Regions from separate parts of the Homo sapiens genome. Here region 2 is linked to region 1. The links are contacts of gene promoters, found by promoter capture Hi-C in blood cells and fetal thymus (Javierre and others, 2016). All regions are on one chromosome and are shown on one strand. The core of a region is centred on a gene start or on the middle of the fragment in contact, and the rest is flanking DNA. Distances in the headings are between cores, read along the strand shown.

What was found. The method cuts DNA at HindIII sites, captures the fragments that hold promoters and counts their contacts. A CHiCAGO score of 5 or more calls a contact.
Region 2: a contact is called between the fragment with the promoter of MYNN here and the fragment with the promoter of RPL22L1 in region 1, in 1 of 17 cell types (neutrophils). The highest score is 7.0, in neutrophils.

Annotation. Positions count from the first base shown.
Region 1 is chr3:170,868,803-170,874,918 of GRCh38, reverse strand. It overlaps RPL22L1 (ribosomal protein L22 like 1), which reads left to right and starts at 4,724. Exons shown (of 4, transcript NM_001099645.2): 1 at 4,724-4,760. The coding sequence starts at 4,752. RefSeq lists enhancers at 3,560-4,285, 4,286-5,012, 5,182-5,231. The HindIII fragment of the contact is 15,380 bases long and covers 1,829-6,116 here.
Region 2 is chr3:169,771,336-169,777,405 of GRCh38, reverse strand. MYNN (myoneurin) reads right to left here and starts at 4,010. Exons shown (of 8, transcript NM_018657.5): 1 at 3,944-4,010; 2 at 2,845-3,141. The coding sequence starts at 3,110. TRV-AAC1-1 (tRNA-Val (anticodon AAC) 1-1) reads right to left here and starts at 5,176; the gene lies at 5,104-5,176. RefSeq lists enhancers at 3,911-4,205, 3,844-4,347, 3,921-4,470, 5,361-5,460. The HindIII fragment of the contact is 7,916 bases long and covers 1-5,347 here.

The DNA.
Region 1 (6,116 bases), core at 3,475-5,974:
TACTATCTTATTACTATTAATTGAATTATAACATATATACAGAAAAAATGAACAGATTATAATTTACAGCTTGATGAGTCTTCACAAAGTAAACATACCCATGTAAATATCACCAAGATGAAGAAATACAACATTAACAGTACATAATCTGCCTATGATATTGAGTTTTTTAAAAAAGTTCTGTGAACCCACAAATTAGACATAATTATTACTATTGTCTACAGTTAGTAGTTGTTTAGATTTACTCACAAGTTTGCTATTTTCTTTGCTCACCATTTCTTTTGACATATAAGCCTTCTTTCTAGGGTCATTTTCCTTCTTCCTAAAGTATATCTTTCAGAATTCCTTTACTGAAGAGCTCTTGATGGCAAACTTTCAGCTTTGTGGCCTAAAAATGTCATAAATGCATCTTTACTCTTGAAATGTATTCTTGGTTTTGTTTTGTTTTTTGTAGCTCTAGGTAGACAGTTATTTTCTCACAGTGCTCTGCAGATAATATTCCTTTGCCTCCGGCTTCCATTGTTGCAGATGGAAAGTCAGCTATTAGTATAAGTCATTTAGTAAATATTTTGTCTTTTCCTTCTCTGGGTGCTTTTGAAATGACTTTGTGTTTTGAAGTTTCACTACAATGTATATAGGTGTGCATTTCTTTAAAATTATCCCTCTTGGGGATTCCTGTATCTGGAAATTCAGCCATTATCTCTCTAGATTTTGCCATTTCCCCATTGTCTCTATTACATCCTTCTGGATCTCCTGGTTGACATATCCAGAAAACTTTTATTCTGACATCCTGGTCTCTTAACCTGTTTTTTATACCTTACATCTATTTGCTTTTCCACATTGCATTCTAAGTAATTTCCCACTCACTGATTTCTCTTCAGCTGTTTACTCTCTTGTTTAACTCATCTACTTTTTCTAATTTCAGTTTTTCTCTTTTTAATGTCTAAATGTTCTCTTTTGTTTTTTTGTTTTTTTTTTTTTTGAGACGGAGTCTTGCTCTGTTGCCCAGGCTGGAGTGTAATGGCATGATCTCAGCTCACTGCAACCTCCACCTCCCCAGTTCAAGTGATTCCCCTGCCTCAGCTTCCCAAGTAGTTGAGACTACAGGCATCACCACCACACCCAGCTAATTTTTGTATTTTTAGTAGAGACGGGGGTTTCTCTATGTTGGCCAGGGTGGTCTCGAACTCCTAACCTCAAGTGATCTGCCTACCTCAGCCTCCCAAACTGCTGGGATTACAGGCTTGAGCCACCGTGCCCGGTCTCCTTTTGCTGTTTTTCAAAAAAAAAAAAAAAATCTGATCAATTTTGATTGTCTCTGACTTCCTTATCATATCCTAAATACTTTTAGTTTTTGCATATACTACAAATACTTATTTTATATTCTGCATTTCATAATTCCAACATATAAAGTCTCTGTGAGTCTGATTTCATAGGTTTTTGATGTTGATTTTCATCCACGGTGGCTTGTTTTCCTGTATTTTCATGATTTTAAAAAACTGTCAGCTCTGCCGGGCACGGTGGCTCACACCTGTAATCCCAGCACTTTGGGAAGCCAAGGCGGGCAGATCACGAGGTCAAGAGATCGAGACCATCCTGGCCAACATGGTGAAACCCCGTCTCTACTAAAAATACAAAAATTAGCTGGCATGGTGGTGCGCCTGTCGTCCCAGCTACTCGAGAGGCTGAGGCAGGAGAATCACTTGAACCCTGGAGGCAGAAGTTGCAGTGAGCTGAGATCTTGCCACTGCACTCCAGCCTGGCGACAGAACAAGACTCCATCTCAACAAAACAAAACAAAACCTGTCAGCTCATATTTCTTGAAGCTTATCTCAGGGAATTATTTGTACCTGGATCTAAAATGCATTTCTCCAGAGAGTATTTGCCCTTGCTTCTGTCTGGTGTTAATAATACAAGCACACTTTAAACTACATATTCAGTTTGGAGCTTTTTCATGCTATCTGAGCAGAGCTAATTCAAGTTCCAAACATGTATGATCATTGCTTGTCATTTCTGCCCCTAAAAATTATTTTACTTTTCCACCAGCTCAACCATACATTAAAAAATTATTTATAAAACTGTATTTTAGGCCGGGCACAATGGCTCACACCTGTAACCCCAGCACTTTGGGAGGCCAAGGTGGGCGGATCAGTTGAGGCCAAGAGTTCGAAACCAGTCTGGTCAACATGGCGAAAACCCTAGTAAAAATAGAAAAATTAGCCATACCTGGTGGTAAGCGCCTGTAATCCCAGCTACTTGGGAGGCTGAAGCAGGAGAATTGCTTGAACCAGGGAGGCGGAGGTTGCAGTGAGCTGAGATTGCGCCACTGCACTCCAGCCTAGGCGACAGAGCAAGACTATGTCTCTAAAAAATAAATAAATGCATACATAAAAATAAAACTATATTTTAGCCATTGGTAAGGTAGTTACATATGGAGGGGTTTTTCTGTGTTTTTTTGCTTACTGATCTGTTTACTAAGGCTTCAGCATCATGTAGATCCAATGACTGAAGTTTATAATATATTAAATACATATCTATCATCTATTATATCTTATATTGGAAGAGCTGGAAAGGCATACTCCCTTTCATTGGTCTAGAGTGTCTTGGCTCTTTTCAGACATTTATTGTGTCATACGTTTTAGAATTAGCTGTCAACACAAGCCATAAAGAACAAAATCACATACTTTGCAGCAACATGGCTGCAGCTGGAGGCCATTATCCTAGGCGAATTAATGCAGGAACAGAAAATCAAATACTGTACTTCTCACTTGTAAGTGGGAACTAAACATTGGATACTCATGGGCATGAAGATGGCAAAAATAGACACTGGGAATACTAGAAGTGGGGAAGGGTTGAAAATCTAATTATTGGGTACTATTTTCACTACCTGGGTGAAGGGATCAATCGCACCCCAACCCCACCATCATTATATATATTCATGTAACAAAACTGTACATGTACCCTCTGAATCTAAAATAAATGTTAAAATTTTTTTAATTAGCTGTCAAATTTTTAAAAAATAACTATAGGGTATTGACTAGCATTGTGTTACTATATACGTGTGCACACGCACAGTTTGGGAAGAACTGAATTATTTACAACTTTTAGTCTTCCCATCTGCACATTTCTCGCTAATATTCTTGTTTTTTTTTCTAATTGACAAACATTTTTCCCCCATTACAGTTTCTAACTAGTTATTTGGTGATTACTAGTTCTTGTGAAACAGGTATGTTTCCATATCCTCCTTGTACAAATGGCTTAATAGTGCTTAAGGAGTTTATTGTCAAGACATGGAAGACTGCTAAAGACAAGCAAAATAGAATCATTTCTGCCCCTCAGCTTAGGCAGCCCTTGAGGAGGAAATGCCAATTGCTCCCTTTAATGTTTGGAAAGAGAAATGTGATTATTGTAGCTCTTAAGGCAGACAACTAAAAAATCTTGTTGAAATGGATTTCTTCTAGGAATTCAGGGCCTCTCTTCAGACTCTACAAGTCATATGCTCTATTAAAGCATAGTTTCCACGATAACTACTTGCTGGCATAAAGGCCACGAACAGTTCTTACTTTCTGGGGTCATTCTTCAAATTAACAACAAAGTCCACCCCATCCCTTACCCCTACCCCTAGGTATGATAATTTCATCTCCACGAAAACATATTACTGCTAAACCCAAGCGGTTCAGCATGCCACTTTTCGGATCTGATGTCAATTTACAATCCTTCAAAGCTCAAAAGCTACTTTTTCCTTTTGTCAGCAAGACACTTCCACCCTCGTGTGTCTTGTACATACTGATAGGTCACAGCAAACATTCATTGAATTTTAACTGGGAGCATTTTGGATGGAAATCAAGAGACCTGGGATTAACTGTAAAACCCATGATAAATTATACCAAACGAATGAACAAGAAGCAAGCACTACGTGTTTTTCCCTTTGAGACAGTCTCACTGTTACCCAGGCTGGAGTGCAGTGGCTCGATCTCGACTCACTGCAACTTCCGCCTCTCAAGGTAAAGCGATGCTCCTGCCTCAGCCTCCCGAGTGGCTGGGAGTACAGACGCGCACCACCACGCGGGCCATTTTTTTTAAAATTGTTTGTAGAGACGGGTTCTCCCTATGCCTACGCTGCCAAGGGTGGTCTCGAACTCCTGGGCTCAAGAGATTCTCCGGCCTCGGCCTCCCAAAGTGCTGGGATTACAGGCGTGGGCGTGTAAGCATATATATACATGATTTTTTTTTCCCGAGGACCTGGTCCCCGAAGCACCAATTTCCCTCAACAGTCATTTAGAAAACGAGGCTCACAGACAAAACACAAACAAATAACTTTTTCGCTGGAGGATTATAACTGCAATAAAAGGAGATCCCAAAGCAACCTGAGACACTGCCTTGCCCTGATTGGAAAGGGGATTCCGGTGATTAGTGAAAGATGACTCCTGCATCCCTCGCGTGCGTCCGTATCCGGGAGCAGCCACTAGGTAACTGTAGAGGCCACTGCAATTAATCGGCTTGAACAGCCAGGAGCGGAAACCCGAGAGTCAGTTCAACCACAGCCACCCGCGTGTGCCCGCGGAAAGCCGATGGCCTACTCTCGTCCGGCAGCGCACTGGTTTCCTGGGTTACCGGCCTCAGCGCTCCTCCCGCTTTCTTTTCCGGGAGGCGACAATCTGACGCTCTCAGCGCGTGACGCAGCACGCTTTGATATAAATGCAGACCGCGCGGCCGTAGCTTCCTCTCTGCTCTCGCGGCCGACTCGCAAGATGGCGCCGGTGAGTGAGCGATGTCTTGGTGGGAGTGTTGTGTGGCAATTTAATGATTTCCGCTGTAACGATTTTTGCATCTGTCGAGTGGAGACGTCTCAGTCAAGATAAAGGGAGGGGAGTAGTGAAGTCTGGGTCAGAAACACAACCAAGACGCGAGGATCCTGAACTGTTTTTCGAGACTCCCTGGCAGCTGCCATGAGGTCTAGTGGAGTTGGAGCTGGGCCCGGAATTGGTTTAGGATGGGTGGTTTTGGACACGCGGGAAAGAGGGAGGCACAACTGTAAATGGGCCGGTGGTACTGCAATCTGAGCCATTTCTTTACTATCTCGCGCCTGATAATGCTTTTGCCACTCAGCACTGGGTAGGGGAATGGTGGGTAATCGGGCCGGTCTGACGACCTTTGCCAGGCCAGAGGGAGCTCCTAGGCGCTCAGCTCCCGCGATGGCCGACATCACAAGTTTTTGAGAACTTTCAGTTGGGGAAGAAGTTTCTCGGTGAAGTAATTTTTAGAAAAGTATAAGTCTAGATTCCAGCAATGTGAAATAAACGTGCTTCAGATGTTTTACTTAAGTCATTAGTAAGGGAACCAGTAAGATGTTAAAATGTTCCTAAGAATATCTGAAAAGCTAGATATACATGCGCAATTTACAAATAAAGTTAGGATAAAATTGCTGGGCTAGCTACAAAACTGGGTAATGCCCAGCATGGCCATAAACCCTATAGGGTTATCTGTTCCATTAGACAGAAGTTGTTTGTGTCTCCCAAATTAACTTCTGCGCCAACTGGGTAATTATCTTTTGGCACATGTTACCATGCTACCTGAGAAAGCAAACTAATGTGTAATACTTGGTAGCCACTTGGGTGAATCTAAATTGGAGGTTATAGTCTGATAAATACAGATTTGTTTGTTCATATTGCAGTGAATGTACATGGTTGCTGGCCACAGTAACATTTTGCTTATGTAGCCATATTATATGGTCTTGGTATAAAAGGTTTGGATATGGAAAATTTAAGTTCCACGGTGTTGGTTTTTAGGTTTTTTTTTTTTTTTGAGACAGAGTCTGTTGCCCAGGTGGGAGTATAGTGGCATGATCAGGCTCACTACAACCTCCGCCTCCCGGGTTCAAGCAATCCTCCCGACTCAGCCTCCTGAATAGCTAGGATTATAAGCATGCACCACCACACCTGGCTAATTTTTGTATTTTTACTAGAGATGGGGTTTCACCATGTTGGCCAGGCTGGCCTTGAACTCCTGACCTCACGTGATCCTCCTGCCTCAGCCTCCCAAAGTGCTGGGACGGCACCTTGCCTTTTTTATTTTTATTTTTTCTTTTTCTTTTCTTTTCTTTTTTTTTTTTTTTA
Region 2 (6,070 bases), core at 2,761-5,260, 1.1 Mb after region 1:
CCCTCTCTGTTGTAAGTATAAGCCAGAAAAGGGTTTTAATCATAGCTGACAATGTAAATATAGTGCTGGTGATACTATTTTAAAGGACTAAAATTTGAAATAAAATAAAAAATAACTAGTGTCATGAACCTCTAAGATCTCTAAAAGTATGCTACAGTATCTACAAATCTCTACCCATGTTCTCATCATCTTCTAATTAAACTTGCTTTGCCTCAAGTGCCACCTGTATGTTTCCCCTTATTTAATTTAGCATCACAACAGCTTTCTAAAAATTGTCTTTTGGGCTGGGCCACTAAAAAAGATCTTTTGGTCTCTAATTGTGTTTAGTGCTCCATAAAATAAACCGCCAAACAGATAACAAGGTCAGGTAGCCTTTAAGACCAATATAAGTTAGCAGGAAGTCATACATTAATTGTTCAAGGCCGGGTGCAGTTGCTTATGCCTGTAAGGCCAAGGTGGGCGCATCACCTGAGGTCAGGAGTTCAAGACCAGCCTGGCCAACATGGTAAAACCCCGTATCTACAAAATACAAAAATTAGCTGGGCATGATGGCGGGTGCCTGTAATTCCAGCTACTCGGGAGGCTGAGGCAGGAGAATCCCTTGAACCTGGGAGGTGGAGGTTGCAGTGAGCCGAGATCACGCCATTGCACTCCAGCCTGGGTGACAGAGTGAGACTCCATCTCAAAAAAAAAAAAAAAAAAAAAAAAAAATTTGTTCAACATTGAAATGGTAATTCATACAAACTATTTCATAGATGGCTATAATCTCAGTCACAGTTAAGAGCACCAATCAATACTTCAATAACAGATTTGCTTTTGTTTACAAGTATTAGATAACATCCTCTGAACAGTCACTGAAGGTCATTTAATTACATATTGCCAGGTACATGCCTAAATGCTTTATAAGATTATCCTCAGGACATGCCTATGAAATCTATTATAATCCTCATTTTACACACAAGTGAAAAATCAGAAGTCCAAAGAAATAAAGTAACCTGTCCAAGAGCACAGAATGTTAGAACCAAGATTTGACCAAGGTAATCTGGCCCCTGAGCCAACTTAATATATTCTACCTGTTTTCTTAATCACTAAGTTGTAAGCCTTTCTATTTTGGTATAAATCCTCTCTTACATTTCTAGCTGAACTCGAGGAATTAGCTCCCCAGTCTCCAGGAAAGATATGTACCAAAAGAGACTGAACAAAACACCTGGCTGTTCTTCACATTGGTTCTTTGCATGAAGTCTCAAAGAAAAGTGCTCTACCGTGTATTCAAATGAAGATTTTTTTGTTTTGCATAGTTAATTGAGAGAAAGGGAAACCATTAAATTGCAGGCCAGCCAAAATTCACACTGCTCTTTTCCTTTAATCAACTTATAAAGAACTCACTTGAAGATTTCATTATACCAAAATTTAAAAATAATTCCAAAATAGCATGAAAGTTTACTTTTCTCTCCCTCCCCTCCCCCCACTGGATACTTCTTACACAAGAATGTTTCCTCGTCAAAAGGATTAATGAGCACCCTGATTCTAGATTTTTAAATAAGTATATTTCCATGATAAGTTACAATATAAAAGGGAGGGAAAGATTTTGCTTAATGTATACATGCACATCTCTACAGAGATCTGGAAAAGAATTAATTAATATATATCAAAAGGTTAACAGGGGTTATCAGTGGGCAGCAGTATTTCAGGTGTTTCTTTTTTGTTTTTTCTATTTTTTCTCCGAGAAATGTGGAATTAAAGGGGGAGGAGAGGGTAAAGAAGAAAAATAAAGAAATTAACGTTCAGTGGGAAGTGAATAAGGATCAAGTAAAACCTTATTTAGCCTCAAGGTAGTTATTACCATCTCATTTTGACAGATGGGGAAACTGAGGCCCAGAGAGATTGCATCATGCTCAAGGAGACATAGCGACTGACAGGAAAGATCTAATTCCAAAGCCTATAATCTTCCTGTGTCAGAAGATTATGAACAGTCTATTCATGTTCACTTTCATAAGAGAGACAGAAATAAGACAGGGGTAATTTAATCAGTTTCTCTTTGCTTTTATTCCCTCCACCTTTTCCCCTACAATCTGTAAATGTATTGATATTAATCTAATTATATGGTTCGTTATACAGGGGAGACACACAGTGCCTACATTATCAGATTCCTCAGAACCCACTTCTTGTTAATGCAGTGACATCAGTAAGCATCTTAGAGAATCATTCTAGCATCTCTGACCTTACTTCAGTATTAGTACTGGTAGGTTAATAGAGATAACAGGAGTCAGAATGAGGGAGACAGAAGACCAGAGGAATTCAAGGACCAAAAAGCAATGGGAAACTGGAAGTAACTTAGAATTTTTTGTTTGCAGCCTGGCCAGCATGGTGAAACCCTGTCTCTACCAAAAAATACAAAAATTAGCCAGGTGTGGTAGTGCACACCTGTAGTCCCAGTTACTAGGGAGGCTGAGGTGGGAGAATCGCTTGAACCCGGGAGGCAGAGGTTGCAGTGAGCCGAGATTGCCCCACTGCACTCCAGCCTGGGTGACGGTGAGCCCGTCTCAAAAATAAAATAAAATAAATTCATTGTGTTTAATGTTCAAGTTTACATAAGTGAAATCACAGGCTTTGTTTCAGTAAATAAACGTGTCAGAAATCTTACTGTTTATTATCTGTGCTTATGAAAAATATTGCCTGCTCATCCTAAATCAGTGATACTGATTTCTTTATAAAAACAAACATTGTGTGCATAAATAGGTGAAGAATTTGAGTTCAGAGAATGAATGGAAAAAATACAAATCTACTTTTGCTGTGAAGACTACTGACTAGCTTTTATAACTGAAAATAAAATGTGTACTTTACCTGTCAAGATTTAAAGTTCCTGTGTATATAAACTCCAACAGTTTCTGAAATCCATCAGCCTTCACCTGACTCTGATCAAGAAAGACATTGTTCTCAGAAGTGCTTCTGTAGATCGCACCAAAATACTCACTAAAGGAGGCCAGCACATTCCTATGAGCTTTAAACTGGAATTCCCCAATCACTATGGTACAGTCACAGAGAAAACCTGCTTCCCGCTGTTTGTTCAGTCTCTCTAAAAGGTGCTCACAGTGGTGCGAATACTGCATTTTGATATCAGAATGGAATTTTACCCTTGATCTAAAAGACAAAAAGAAACAGTAAATCAGTAACCGTAAGTTCTCATCAACGTTCAGTGAGGGAAGGGACAGAGGACATAACTTAAACAATTTTAGCCCCCTTGAAAATCCTTATCAAACATACATGGTTAAGAATGAAGGGATGAGTGCCTTTCTATCTTTGGTTACCTTGATCAACTAACACAATCCTTTGGACACATCAATAAGTGACGGTGAATGGCAACACTTCTACCACCTGCAAAAAGCACAGCAAAACCTGACGCTTTCACATCTGTTGAACCCTCAGATTTTCAAGCTCAGTAGACATACTTATGTTACAAAAAAATTTTTTAAACCACTAAGACATGATCTCTTGGGACAGATAGGGGCAGAACAGTACGAGTTTTTAAAAACTGCTCTCAAGTCACCAAAACCTGTTAGTTTCCCCAGTGCAGTTTCTCCAAAACGAGAGGTGGCTGCCCAGAAAGCCGGGAATGCGCCCGGCCATGGCTTGCTGTCAAAGGTTCTATCACTCGCGCTAAGGAGGCCACACCTTCTCCCTTCCCACTCTCTACGCGAGGCGGCATCCGAGAGTGACAACCAAAGCCAGTCCCTCCTCGGCTTCTGCCGCCCTGCCCTCTGCCCAGCTCCCACTCCCGCGAATTTCCACAGCAGAGGTTGTGGCCCAGGCCACCCCGGGGCTGCCTAGCCCAAGCCTTCCACCTGCGCCCCGACCCGTGCTGGAACTCCAAGGAGCCTGCCCTCTGATGGCCCAGGCTCTAGAGAGACCGGGATGGCGGGCTGGGGGTGAAGTAGGAACTCACCGATAGCAACCCAAGGGGGGAACACAGTTTCTTCACTCTGTCTCCGCCATCTTGGGAGGACGTCACCGAGCCACGCTCCGCCCCTCCCTTCCTTCCACGGTGGCGTCACGTCCGGCTCTGTCTTCCCGTGGCAGTGCGGGAGGTTCTGGGGCCATGGGGGTCCGGCGCCGGCCAGGGCGGTACAGGATGTACCACAGAGACCCACTCCCCAGCATGCCAGGGGTCCCCCGAAGCAGCAGGCGTCATGGATACGAGAGCTGAGGGCTCGCTAGCTCGCAGCGCTCCGCCTGTCTTCCTCATCGCGAGCATTCTGGTGCCGGCAGTCAGCGTCTGGCGCTCTGCCGGGGCTCTGCGCCGAGGCCCGGCAGCACAGCACCGCGGGCCTCTCTCCTGAAGCCAGCTGCGCACTGCGTGCGGGGGCTTGTAGTTGCTTGTCTTCTCCCATCATCCTCCCCTTCCTCGGGGCCCCACCGGTGGAAACTGCTGCATGTGTACTCGGATCTCTGCCATAGGGGATTTTTTAGCTGAGACTTGGCACCCCTTTCCCGCTTACGTACCTGAAAACTCTTGGCACCCCCTGGTTTTTTTGTGCCCCAGCCAACTGTAGCTCAGCTTCCAAGATGCCCTTACCTGGTGACAGAAGTCTGGGATGCACGAAAGCGGAGCAGCTGGGCACAGTGGGCATGCGCAACATTAGAGGAAGGTGGGCTTTATACCGGAAAAGGTTTTCCTGCGTCTGGACCAGAAGATTTTTAATACGATTATTTACAGCCACTTCAGACGAAAAACCAAGTGATATAATACAAAAATGCTCAGGAGGCGACAGGACTAACCACTTTTACACTTTGATCTTTCCTTCTAGGCTGTACATTATTTTTTCAGTGTTAGCTGGTGAGTCAAATTCATTTTTTAAAACCCGGGACACATGTTCCACGTGGCAAGGCTTCCATAAAAACATTTGGTGAACGAATAAAGTAACAAAAACTTACAGTTCAGACTCTCAAATTGCTATCATGTCTTTTGAAGGACCGGCATACATTAAGCTAAGGCTTCCCTCAGAAAAAAAAACAAAACAAACAACAAAAGAAAACAAAGCGTGATCTCACGCTTTCTTCCAAGCGAAGGAAAAAAAAAAAAAAAAAAAAAGGGATTTTTTAGTGTGTTTCCGCCCGGTTTCGAACCGGGGACCTTTCGCGTGTTAGGCGAACGTGATAACCACTACACTACGGAAACCCCACTTTGGAGAGGGTTTTGTAAAGTCCTTGATATGTAAGTGTCAATTCGCAATTCTCAAGTGATTATTATCAAATTGAGAGGAATGAATATAATGTATTTAAAGAAAAAAACAGAAAAGGAAAAATAGCCTATGCCCAATTGAACAGAGCTGAAACCATTTCAAAAGCTTGAATCTGCACGCACTTTCTTCCAAAGTGCCCGGGTACCGCAGTAGAAACCAGGCACTCCCGAGTTGCCCTTCCTTTGGGTGGCCTTTTTTTTTTTTGTCTCCCTGGAAAGGCGTTTTATTACACATCCTTTCCGCAGGTTGAGCTGCTCAGAGTCCGGGGCGAAGCAGGGGGCTTTCGTTATTCAGCCGCGAAAAAGCCATCCTTTCAGCTTCTGGTGGAAGGACGTGTAAAATTACTTTTGAATTTCCTCTTTTTGCTTCCGAAGACCAAGCAGAAGTTCTAAATTGACTGCTTGTTTTCAAATTCTCTACAGATGTATGCAGAATCAGACACCAAGATGCGTTTATTGACATGCAATGTACTTTCAAATTTTTCCAAACTTGAATTTCATATGACCTGATAAACTTCACTTTTCCTGCAAAAAGACAGGCACGTCCTTCAGCCTAAAAATCAAGAGTAGCGAATGAGGCTTGCAGATTACACCAGAAGGATAGAAATCGAAATATATATATTTATATTTATTATATATAAATATAAATTTTTATATATTTATTATATATAAACATAAATTTTTATATATTTATTATATATAAACATAAATTTTTATATATTTATTATATATAAACAAATTTTTATATATTTATTATATATAAACATAAATTTTTATATATTTATTATATATAAACATAAATTTTTATATTTATTATATATAAACAAATTT